Regions from separate parts of the Homo sapiens genome. Here all the other regions are linked to region 2. Evidence: promoter capture Hi-C in 16 types of primary human blood cells and fetal thymus (Javierre and others, 2016). All regions are on one chromosome and are shown on one strand. Each heading gives the region's core, a stretch centred on a gene start or on the middle of the fragment in contact. The rest is flanking DNA. Distances are from core to core; before and after follow the strand shown.

Evidence for each region. The method cuts DNA at HindIII sites, captures the fragments that hold promoters and counts their contacts. A CHiCAGO score of 5 or more calls a contact.
Region 1: a fragment that was not itself captured here is called in contact with the fragment with the promoter of PF4V1 in region 2 in 1 of 17 cell types (neutrophils); the score reaches 5.8 in neutrophils.
Region 3: a contact is called between a fragment that was not itself captured here and the fragment with the promoter of PF4V1 in region 2, in 1 of 17 cell types (megakaryocytes). The highest score is 5.3, in megakaryocytes.

Annotation. Positions count from the first base shown.
Region 1 is chr4:74,163,570-74,167,164 of GRCh38, forward strand. All of the region lies in intron 1 of MTHFD2L (methylenetetrahydrofolate dehydrogenase (NADP+ dependent) 2 like), which reads left to right. Among named protein-coding and RNA genes, the nearest start is that of MTHFD2L, 7.2 kb to the left of the region's middle. RefSeq lists an enhancer at 1,217-1,346. The HindIII fragment of the contact is 3,104 bases long and covers 1-2,935 here.
Region 2 is chr4:73,851,037-73,854,650 of GRCh38, forward strand. It overlaps PF4V1 (platelet factor 4 variant 1), which reads left to right and starts at 2,260. Exons shown (of 3, transcript NM_002620.4): 1 at 2,260-2,426; 2 at 2,747-2,873; 3 at 2,999-3,447. The coding sequence starts at 2,327. The coding sequence ends at 3,086. The HindIII fragment of the contact is 5,836 bases long and covers 1-3,614 here.
Region 3 is chr4:73,569,891-73,573,451 of GRCh38, forward strand. RASSF6 (Ras association domain family member 6) reads right to left here. Exons shown (of 11, transcript NM_177532.5): 11 at 1,660-3,561. Among named protein-coding and RNA genes, the nearest start is that of RASSF6, 49 kb to the right of the region's middle. The HindIII fragment of the contact is 2,602 bases long and covers 107-2,708 here.

The DNA.
Region 1 (3,595 bases), core at 134-2,633, 310 kb after region 2:
TTACTTCAAGATGTGAATAGGGTACTTGGGGTATGAAACAAATTTTTTTAAAGAGGTCATAAACTTAACACTTGCAGGTATTCATTTATTTTAATAACACACTTCAAAAGACTCCCTATACTGGTGATTGGTTTTATTCCCTATGGAATTTTGCCCTGTTTTTGGGGGGTTTCATTTCTATTGTACAAACTCAAGACATCGAAGATATGCCCTAAGATATAAAGCAATTAAACTGTATGTTAGGGCCTGGGTAGAGCTTGGAATTGTTAATCATTCTATTAGGATTTTTCGTCTTTTTTTGTTTGTTTGTTTTGTTTTTTGTTTGAGGCAGAGTCTTGCTCTGTCACCCAGGCTGGAGTGCAATAGCACGATCTTGGCTCACTGCAAACTCTGCCTCCCGGGTTCATGCCATTCTCCTGCCTCAGTCTCCCAAGTAGCTGGGACTACAGGCGCCCGCCACCACGCCCGGCTAATTTTTTGTATTTTTAGTAGGGACGGGGTTTCACCGTGTTAGCCAGGATGCGTCTTGATCTCCTGACTTCGTGATCCGCCCGCCTCAGCCTCCCAAAGTGCTGGGATTACAGGCGTGAGCCACCATGCCTGGCCAGGTTTTTTCAACATTATAGAGATAAAATGGTTCATTGCAGCTCTAGTTGAAGTCGTGAATAAAGATGAGATTGAAACTAAGATATGGATTTGCCAAGTATACGAATTAAATAAACTCTTGATCTTGACTAGGTTTTATTTGTTGGTAAGCTACTTTTTTGTGGAAGAGTATTTTGATACATAGAAATAATCCTCCCCCTTTGTTATTTTGCTCTAGTTTATTAAATAAATCATTTGATTCTAATAAGCGTAGATAAGGTGGTTAGTTTATTTTCTGGAAGTACAAGTAAACAAGCCCATGGAAACAGCACTAAGTGCTGAAGACTTTCTGCTCTCATAATGTTTCTGGTTATCGAAATATGTCTCCATCTGTAATTTAGCAGAAACTAAGAGAAAGAGCCACTTTTGCAAACCAGCCCATGAACTTTTAGCCAAATCCTCTTATGTAATGTAAGGTCAACAAGAGAGTATTCCCATTATATAGATGAAGAAATTGCATGCCGTTGAGAGAAGCTAAGTGACTTGCCTAACTTTATTATTGCTACTAATGGTAACCCAGAGCTCTGATGCTCAGGACTTCTAATTTCAGGTGAGTAGTTTGTACTACATAGTGCTGCCCTGCTACTCACTAGCCACCACCTCCCTTCTTTAATTTTTGCCTCCTGATGAAGCCACATTTCGTGGCTAGCCCAGCAGTAGGCTGGGCTTTTGGAAGGGAGGGCACCTTTTCTTGCCTTTAGGGGAAGGTCATTTCTGCCTTTGTGGGAAACCACCTGAGCAAGTAATGACAGGGCACATCATGTAAACAATATCTAAGGGGTCAAATGGATTTTATTTTTGATATGCATTAATGGCAAGGTCACTATGTAATTTTTTTGGCCAAACTAGCACATTTTTTAGAGTAAAAAGGGGCACGAATGTAATGAAAATTATATATTTGGAATATCTATTGGCTTACAAATATATTAGTGAACTTATAGAATAGTTTCAGACCATTTTCAAAATTAACATTTTAAAAGATAATTTATATCCTTATGTGTTAAAATAAAAATTTATATTACATGAACATTCAGCATGAACAATTATTCCTGGTGCATATTCACATGCTTGAATCAGTTTCTTAGCTGTATCTTTTAACACCTTGATCCTGATAATTTTCTGAAAAAAGTTAATAAGATCTTATGCTTTGTTTATTTTTTTTGAGACAGAGTCTTTCTCTGTCACCCAGGCTGAGTGCAATGGTGTGATCTTGGCTCACTGCAACCTCCGCCTCCTGGGTTCAAGTGATTCTCCTGCCTCAACCTCCCGAGTAGCTGGGACTACAGGTGCATGCCACCACGCCCAGCTAATTTTTCTATTTTTAGTAGAGACGGGGTTTCACCATATTGGTCAGGCTGGTCTTGAACTCCTGACCTCGTGATCCACCCGCCTCGGCCCCTCAAAGTGCTGGAATTACAGGCGTGAGCCACTAGGCCCGGCCCTTGTGCTTAATTTTAAAATTAAATTTTCTGCAATTTTCTTAACAGTTGCAAATAGAATCTTTGCTTTAGACAATGGTTATTTTAGTTTTAAAGGTACTGTCTCTATAGATGCTGAAACACCACATAAACTGCTAAATGGAACAGTCTTAATTCTACATTTTGCACATTGAAATGGGAAGATATTTTAGCCTAAATATTTTCACAGGTGCTATGTTGGTGTATCTTTTCAAAGTACTTTTCTTTGACAAATATTTAGATAAAAGAAATAAGTTGTTTTTGTGTATGATTTTAAAAATAGTTTACCATATTTAGATAGGGGAAAATTAAAGTTTTTCTCAATTGTATTCCAATGTTTTACAAAATGGTAATTTATTCCAGGAAATTTTATTCAACAAAAAATATGAGTTCCATCAGAAGATTATTCTCAGACATTGAACTATTTAAAATTGCTATTATAGATGTATTTATTTACTAATTCTGCTGTATACAAAGTTCCACAAACTAGCTAGCTTGAAACAGCAGAAATCTGTTTTCACACTGGAAACAGTGGAAGGAGGCTGGAAGTCTGAAATCAAAGTATCTGTAGGCCCACACTCTGTCGACTAGCTTCTGGTTATTGCCAGCAGTCCTTGGTGTTCCTAAGGAGTTTGCAGCTGCATAACTCCAGTCTTTGCCTCTGTTGTTAAATGGTTGTCTTCCCTCTCTGTCTTCACTTCCCTTTTTATGTGTCTCTGTGTCTTCTCTTGTAAGGACAGAAATTAAAATTACTTGTGCATTGTTTGAGCTATGATTTTTTAAATTAGTTTACTTCTTCCCTTCCTTTTGAAGAGATAAGGTTTCTGTTTGTAAGCTTTGGTTTCACTGATTACAATTCACTAAAAACTTTAAATCTGAAGGTGTCCCTACTCCCATTTGGTCTGTTTGTTGAATATGTTGATTAATAATGACCAACAACTTTTGAAAAAAATGCAACAAGTGTTGCCCATCCCAGTGCCAGGCCAGCCCCCACAGACACAGCTTGTAGGCCAGTCCTTGCAGACCCAGGCTCTAGGCCTGCACTAATGCCAGGGCAGCATCCAAAGATTCCAGCTGAGCCTCTGCAGACTTAGGCATCAGGTAGAAACTCATGGACCCACACTGTAAGCCTGCCCCAGTACCAGGTCAGCTTCCATTAATTCAGGTCCAAGCCTATCCCCAGGGACCCAAACTCTGCACCCAACCCCATGGTTCTAGGTACCAGGTCTTCCCCTGCAGATCTAGGTACCAGGGCCATTCCAGAGGACCCTGGGCAAGCCTAGTCCCCACAGACTTGGGACCAGACCCATTCCAATGCCAGGCTGGTCCCCATGGACTCAGGCTCAAGACCTACCCCAGTGCCAGGATGGCCCCTATGAACCTAGGCTTCAGGTCTGTATTTGCAGACCAAGGCTCCAGGACTACTCCTATATACCCAGTTGACAGCCCACCCCAGTGGACCCATGCACCGGATTAGCCCCCTGTGAGTTGAA
Region 2 (3,614 bases), core at 1,010-3,509:
TTTTAATTTTTAATTTTTTCACCTTTTAAATTTTTTTATTGAAAACTAAGACTCCAACATAAAAATTTGCCTATACAAGGTCAGAATCATCAATCACTTTCTTCCACATTCATTTCTTATCTCATGGGCAATAAGACATATGGAGTGGTCATCTTCTAAAATAACAATGTCTTTTTCTGGAATATTTTCTGAAGGGCCTTCCAGAGGCTGATTCATAGTTAACTCTTCTTCCATTAGCAGGAGAAGGAGTTCACTCTAAAATAATGATTAAAGAGTATAATATAGTAAATACACAAACCAGAAACAGTGTTGTTTATTATAATTATCCATTTTTATGTACTGTACATACTTGTATGTCATATACTTTTATGCAACTGGAAGCACAGTAAGTTTGTTTACACCAGCATTACCACAAACACATGAATAATACATTGGCTTGCTATGATTTTACAACAGCTATGGTATCACAAGGCAATAGGAATTTTTTAGCTCCACTATAGTCTTATGGGATCATCATCACTTATACAGTCTATTACTGCCCAAAACGTTGTTATGTGGTGGGTGACTGCACATAAGTCACAGAGAATTGCTATTGAAGAGATCACTATCTTGTGGGAGAGGCAGACAAGTGGACAAATAATTTTGACCATATGTGACACGTGTCAATATAGATGTATGTTCCAATTATATGCTCTAATTGCTCCAATTGAATAGACATAGGAACACGTCAAAGCCTCATCATCATCATTTTCAACACATTATCTTCACTACTGTAGCTACTTTGCACTGAGTCCCTACCAGTACATTGAAATAGTGATAAACGTTATGATATCTAATGTCACAGTGTTTTCCATTTAAGAAACAAAACAATTTTAAACACTTTTAAATACACAGATACACATACACACACATATATATATATATATCTACAATATATGTGTGTGTATGTTTGTGTATTCTGTGAGAAATACGAAGAACAGAGTTCTGCAAGATAGAACAACAAGGGAACACAATTATATATAGCTGTCAGGGAAGGCACACCTGAGGAAGTGATATTTAAGCTGACACCAGAAATATGAATAGGTCTTAGCCAGCTGAATAGGCAGGTGTAGGGAGAGTAGGAGAAAGAATTGCATATTCCTACAAAAATGCAGGTTTGCTGAGCATTAGAATATCAGCTAGTTCCATCCAGTGGGTCCCTGACACCCTTCACCACTGTTAGTCAGAGTGACAGGGAACCTTGGGCTTTGGGTTGAGGGTGTACCTTGCCCTGATCAAGAGCCAAAGTCATTCTTTTTTAGAGAAGAGAAAACGGTCGATATGGATCTCTTCCCCTTTCCCGTGTGGGATTCTGTTGCATCCCCTTCACTGTCACCTCCCATCATTCTCACACCCAACTCCCAGATGCCCTGAATCCTCCCACAGAGAGCATCACTGCTCCCTGCCAACAGTGCAGCCCATCTCACCCTGTCACTGGCAGTGACTGAGGACACAGCAGGCTCTGGAAGACATGGCCTGGCAAACTCTCCTTGTCCTCTCTTCTGGACTATTATTCAGGATTGAAACAATGAAGAAACATCCAGGAGCTAAGTTTTTATAAAAATAATGCATTCAAATATTACTTCTGCAATTTTTCTAAGAGTAACGGGAAATAGATCTTGCATCCTACAGTATACTGGGTGATTGTTGGTGGAGCCTGGTAAATCTCATCCAGAGACTAGGGAAGTTTTCCACATTCAGGTGAAATTCAGAAGAGTCATCACCTAGAGACCAAATTAAACTTATTAGTATTAGAAAACAATTGCAAATAGCACACTCTTCAAACACACAGCCATCAAACTCAATGGTAATCAAGACTGAAGTTAGGAGCATATGGGCAGTTCTTGAGTTGAGAAGGAAACAAGAACTGTCTGGGTCCTGAAGCCACCTGCTGTGTAAGTTGCTTGGTGACTACAGAGAACTCTACTATGATACAACACAGAAAATATTTCTCTTCTAAGATGCAAGTAGTGTTTCTAACTCCACAAATGTAAGTGTATATAAACTGAGGTTGGAGGTATGCATCTTTGTACCACCTCCTAGCCAAGGCAGCTGCCCCCAGCCTTTTGTTTTGTAATCTTGGCTGGCCAGAGTCTGAGTCTTCATAGCAGTGTCTTAGCTCCTGCACCACAGTTCCTCGCTGTCCACCCCAGGCTTCCGGACTGGAAGGACAGTGGGACAGTGACGGGGGATAAAAGAAGCCTGGTGAGGCCAGGAGTCACTGCCTGCAGAACCCCAGCCCGACTTTCCCTGCGCACTGGGATCCTGCTGGAACCTCAGCTGCAACATGAGCTCCGCAGCCAGGTCCCGCCTCACCCGCGCCACCCGCCAGGAGATGCTGTTCTTGGCGTTGCTGCTCCTGCCAGTTGTGGTCGCCTTCGCCAGAGGTGAGAGCAGAAACCAGGCTGGGAGGGCCAGCAGCGGCGAGGGGGAGTCCGGGAAGCCCTGGGGCTGGGGAGGAATCCTCTAGGATCATGATCGCAGCTGCTCTTATTGCGCGCGTGCTGAGTCTGCGGGTACAGTGCCAGGCACTGCACGTGCACCTCGCCACCTGATCAGCACAACCTCTGTCTGAGAGAGGTCTGATTTACGGCTAAGGAAAAGAAAGCTGAAGGTAGTGGAAAAGGTCCCTAAAGTATCTCTGGCTACTCAGGGAGTCACAACTCCCACCCCTCCTCCTCTCTTACTCCCTCCCTTTCCCCCTCAGCTGAAGCTGAAGAAGATGGGGACCTGCAGTGCCTGTGTGTGAAGACCACCTCCCAGGTCCGTCCCAGGCACATCACCAGCCTGGAGGTGATCAAGGCCGGACCCCACTGCCCCACTGCCCAACTCATGTGAGTCCTCGCACTGCATCAGTTAGTGCTCCCGCTCCGTGCCTCCTCTGCCCATCCCTCCCCCTTCTAATGCCATTTGCAAACCCAAGGACTGAAAGTCACGTCTCTTCTCTTTTCCCTGCCAGAGCCACGCTGAAGAATGGGAGGAAAATTTGCTTGGATCTGCAAGCCCTGCTGTACAAGAAAATCATTAAGGAACATTTGGAGAGTTAGCTACTAGCTGCCTAAGTGTGCACTTTCAATCTAACTGTGAAAGAATCTTCTGATGTTTGTATTATCCTTCTTATATTATATTAACGAAATAAATCAAGTTGTGGTATAGTCAATCTATTTCTTAATAATACTGCAAAAATAATGCTGACACATCACAATTTCATATTTTAAAATTTCCAGAATTTTAAGCAAAAAGCATTATGAAGGAAGGCTTGGTTTAATAAAGACTGATTTTGTTCAGTGTTATATGTTAGCTGATACATATTTGTTCATTTATGTGATTGCAGTACTTTATAGCTACATATTTACCTTGAATGTTACAATTAGCTTGCCAATAAATATTAGTAGCTCTTAAGCATTACTCGACAGCTTTTTTTTTTTTCAATGAAGTAAATAAGCAACACTCTGCTTTTATCCCCACAAATTCCTTAACATTGGTGATATTAAGATTCTGGGAACTAAGAGAAGTGTGAGGTAATATTTTCATTCATCCTTTAGGAAGACATTGCTCTACACTGGGGAGAAATG
Region 3 (3,561 bases), core at 158-2,657, 280 kb before region 2:
AAAACCCTAAAAGCAACTTGGAGTTTTTGTCTATGCCAATACTGAAAATGTTTATTGCCAAACTGAATGAAATAAGCTTCATAATAAAGTTACCTTCCTAATCATAAGCTTCATAATAAAGTTACCTTCCTAAAGGTTTCACCTTTAATCTTTACCCTAAATATGTGATGCTGTATTGGCACCAATACAATATAATGCACTTAAATTAATTTGAGCTTGAAGTGATTATTTGTGATAGTACTTTTTTTCTTTGGAAATCTTTCTGCAAAAGACATAAAGAACTGATGGGTATCATTTGGACTTGTTTTTATTTTTCCAGATATTTTTGTATAAAAGATAAAGTAAAACTAAGTGCTTAAATAAATGAATTATTTTGATTAGAGAACTATAAAAAAATTAATTATCATTCTAATACCCTTTCCTTGAGTTTAATTATTTTTCCTCACTTCAGTGACTTCAACACATTCATATGCATTAGTGAATTAGATCCAATAAACATTTGCTGAGTACCTAATGCATTCAATACACTGTGCTAGATACTACAAGGAATAATACAAATATGAATATGATTTCACCAGATCACTAATGCATTTATACAAGATATAAGCACATAAAGAATTATAATAAAAGGCAAATTTCAAAATTCTGGTGTCACAAGAGCAGAGCTAACTGAAACTGTGGTACACAGGAGCTTGAGATCACACATTGTTACAGAGACCAGGAAAGGTAATGGAAGAAGGGACCCTAACCAGGGACTAGAAAATGGGAATGTTTCAACAGAAAGAGATGTGCTAAAGTGTGCAGTGTTTCAGGGAAGGCTGAGTGATTTAGTTTGGCTGGTTTTAAGACAAAAATGACATAGCTGTGGGCAGTAAGTCTTAGTAGAAGATAAGGCTACGATGGTGGTTGGGGAATATACTGAAGTTTAATTATAACATAGCTAATATTTATCACATTCTTATGTGCAAAGTGCCAGGCTTTACATGTGCTATTCTTGTAACTCCCCCAACTGTCCAATGAAGTAGGTACTATTATTCCACTTAAAAATGAGGACACATTTTAGAATGGCAGATTCGGGAAGCATAGTTCGGGGGAAGCCACAGATTATGGTGGTTAACTGTATGGCTTCTGGAGCCATAAGTTTAAATCCTACCTATTTCTTCTACTAAAAACCTTGGCAAATCTCCTAACTGCTCCATGGCTTACTTTCTTTATCTGTAGCATGAGGTTGAAAGAATAATTTCCTTATGGAATTGTAATGAATATTAAACGTAGTGCCCAGCAAATAAGTTGTTATTAGTTTGAACAATATGAAATCATTGCCTTTGTAGGTCAAATATTGGCAATTTCAAATGGCTCAATCTAATAGGTATTAGATGTTATTAATTTAGAAGACAAATGAATGTCATTGAAAGGTTTTGCCCTCTGTAACTACATCCTATTTCTTGTTCTTTCCCATATATATGCCTCCACCTAATAGTTATACCTGCTGTCTTTATCACTTCATCAATTGCATTGCAAGGGGCTTCTTTCCCCTTCAGTTTCAAAAACCAATCTAAATAGCCCTAAACCAAATTAAACAGTAATGACACCTAACTGAATATTTCATAGTAGAGCCAAGAGATAATAAAATATACCACTATATCAGGGAAAAACATATATATATATATAATGTTTAATATTTTTTCAGCTATGGGACCAGACTTGTAATAAGTAATACATACATATGGGGAATTTTATAAAAATATTTCAGATAATTCCTTCACTCATTCATTTATTCTTTCATTCACTTATTTATTCAATCAATTTTTATTGAGCACATCCTACGCACAAGACACAATATTAGGTACAGAAAAGCTATAAAGATAAATGTGACACATTCTTTACCATTAATAATAATATATATTATCTAAAATTTAATTTGAGCTAATATATAACTGACAATGAAATATTTGGACCACCTAAAACAAGGATAAATTATTCTGTGACAAGTTTATATTCTTGCATTATGCAAAAATGATTCGAAAATAAACTATTTTTTTCCCAGAAATTGTATGAGCTATACATTGCTATGTAACAAATTGCCCCAAATTTAGCGGCGTACTACAACAAACACTTCTTATCTCATACAGTTTCTGAGGATGAGGAATCCAGAATGGTTTCCTTGGGTTTTCTGGCTGAAGGTCTCTCATGAAATTACGGTCAAGCTATTAGACAGGGCTGCAGTCATCTGAAGGCTTGACTGAGGCTGGAAGATCTACTTCTAAAATGGCTGTTGACAGGAGGCCTCAATTCCCTGCTGGCATTTGATAGAAGGTCTCAGTTCTTCATCATGTAGGTCTTTCCAGGGCTGCTCAGGACATGGCAGTTGACTTCCCCCAGAGCAAGTGGTCCAAGAGAGAGCAAGGAGGAAGCCACAGTGACTTTTATGACCTACTTCAAAGTCTCACAGTCTCTTCCATTTTCCTGTATTAAAAGTAAGTCCCTAATTGCTAAAAGAGTACATTTTTAAATGTTCTCACCACAAAGAAATTATAAGAGGTTATGGATATGTTAATTAGCTTGATTTAATAATTCCATAATGTATACATATATAATAATATAATATTGTACCCCATAAATACATACAATTATTATTTGTCAATTAAAAATAAAATAAAAAGACGTAAGTCACTAAGTCCAGCCCATTTTCAGGATGAGGAAGATTAAGCTTCATCTCTTCAAAGGAGAAGAATCAGACTTTATGGATATAAAACTACCACAGAAGTGATGTTAATGTCTCATTTGAATAATTGATTTGAAATTTTTTGCATTTGGTAGAACTCTGTGCTTGCATGTGCTTGTTACTTTTTTGTTCATAAGTTTTAAATAATAACTTTACTATTTCCTGATGTAAAAAGTAACAAATATAAACTATAGAACACTTAATACAGATAGGGAAGTTAGAAAAACATGAATCACTCATAATTCTACAATGCAGATATAGCCATTTTTAACATGTTTTTATTTCTTGTGTGTATATATATGCAAATATTAGTGTTCACACACACAAATACATATATATATACACACACATACATATATAATATATATGCCTTAAGTACATAATAAATATTTTGGAACATGTGTATGTGTATATTCTTATTTAGATATATAAGAATTTACCCCTGTAATTAAAATTACTTGGAAACAGAATTTTAATGGCTACATAACAATATACAAATAAATGTTTATTTCCCTCTTTTTTTTTTTTTAGAGACGGAGTCTTGCTCTGTCGTCCAGGCTGGAGAGCAGTGGCGCCATCTCGGCTCATGCAACCTCCGCCTCCCGGGTTCAAGCGATTCTCCTGCCTCAGCCTCCCGAGTAGCTGGCATTATAGGTGCCTGCCATTGCACCCGGCTCATTTTTTGTATTTTTAGTAGAGGCAGGGTTTCACCATGTTGGCCAGGCTGGTCTCGAAATCCCAACCTCAAGTGATCCACCTACCTTGGCCTCCTAAAGTGCTGGGATTACAGGCGTGAGCCACCGTCCATGGCCTATTTCCCTCTTTCATCTTTTAAA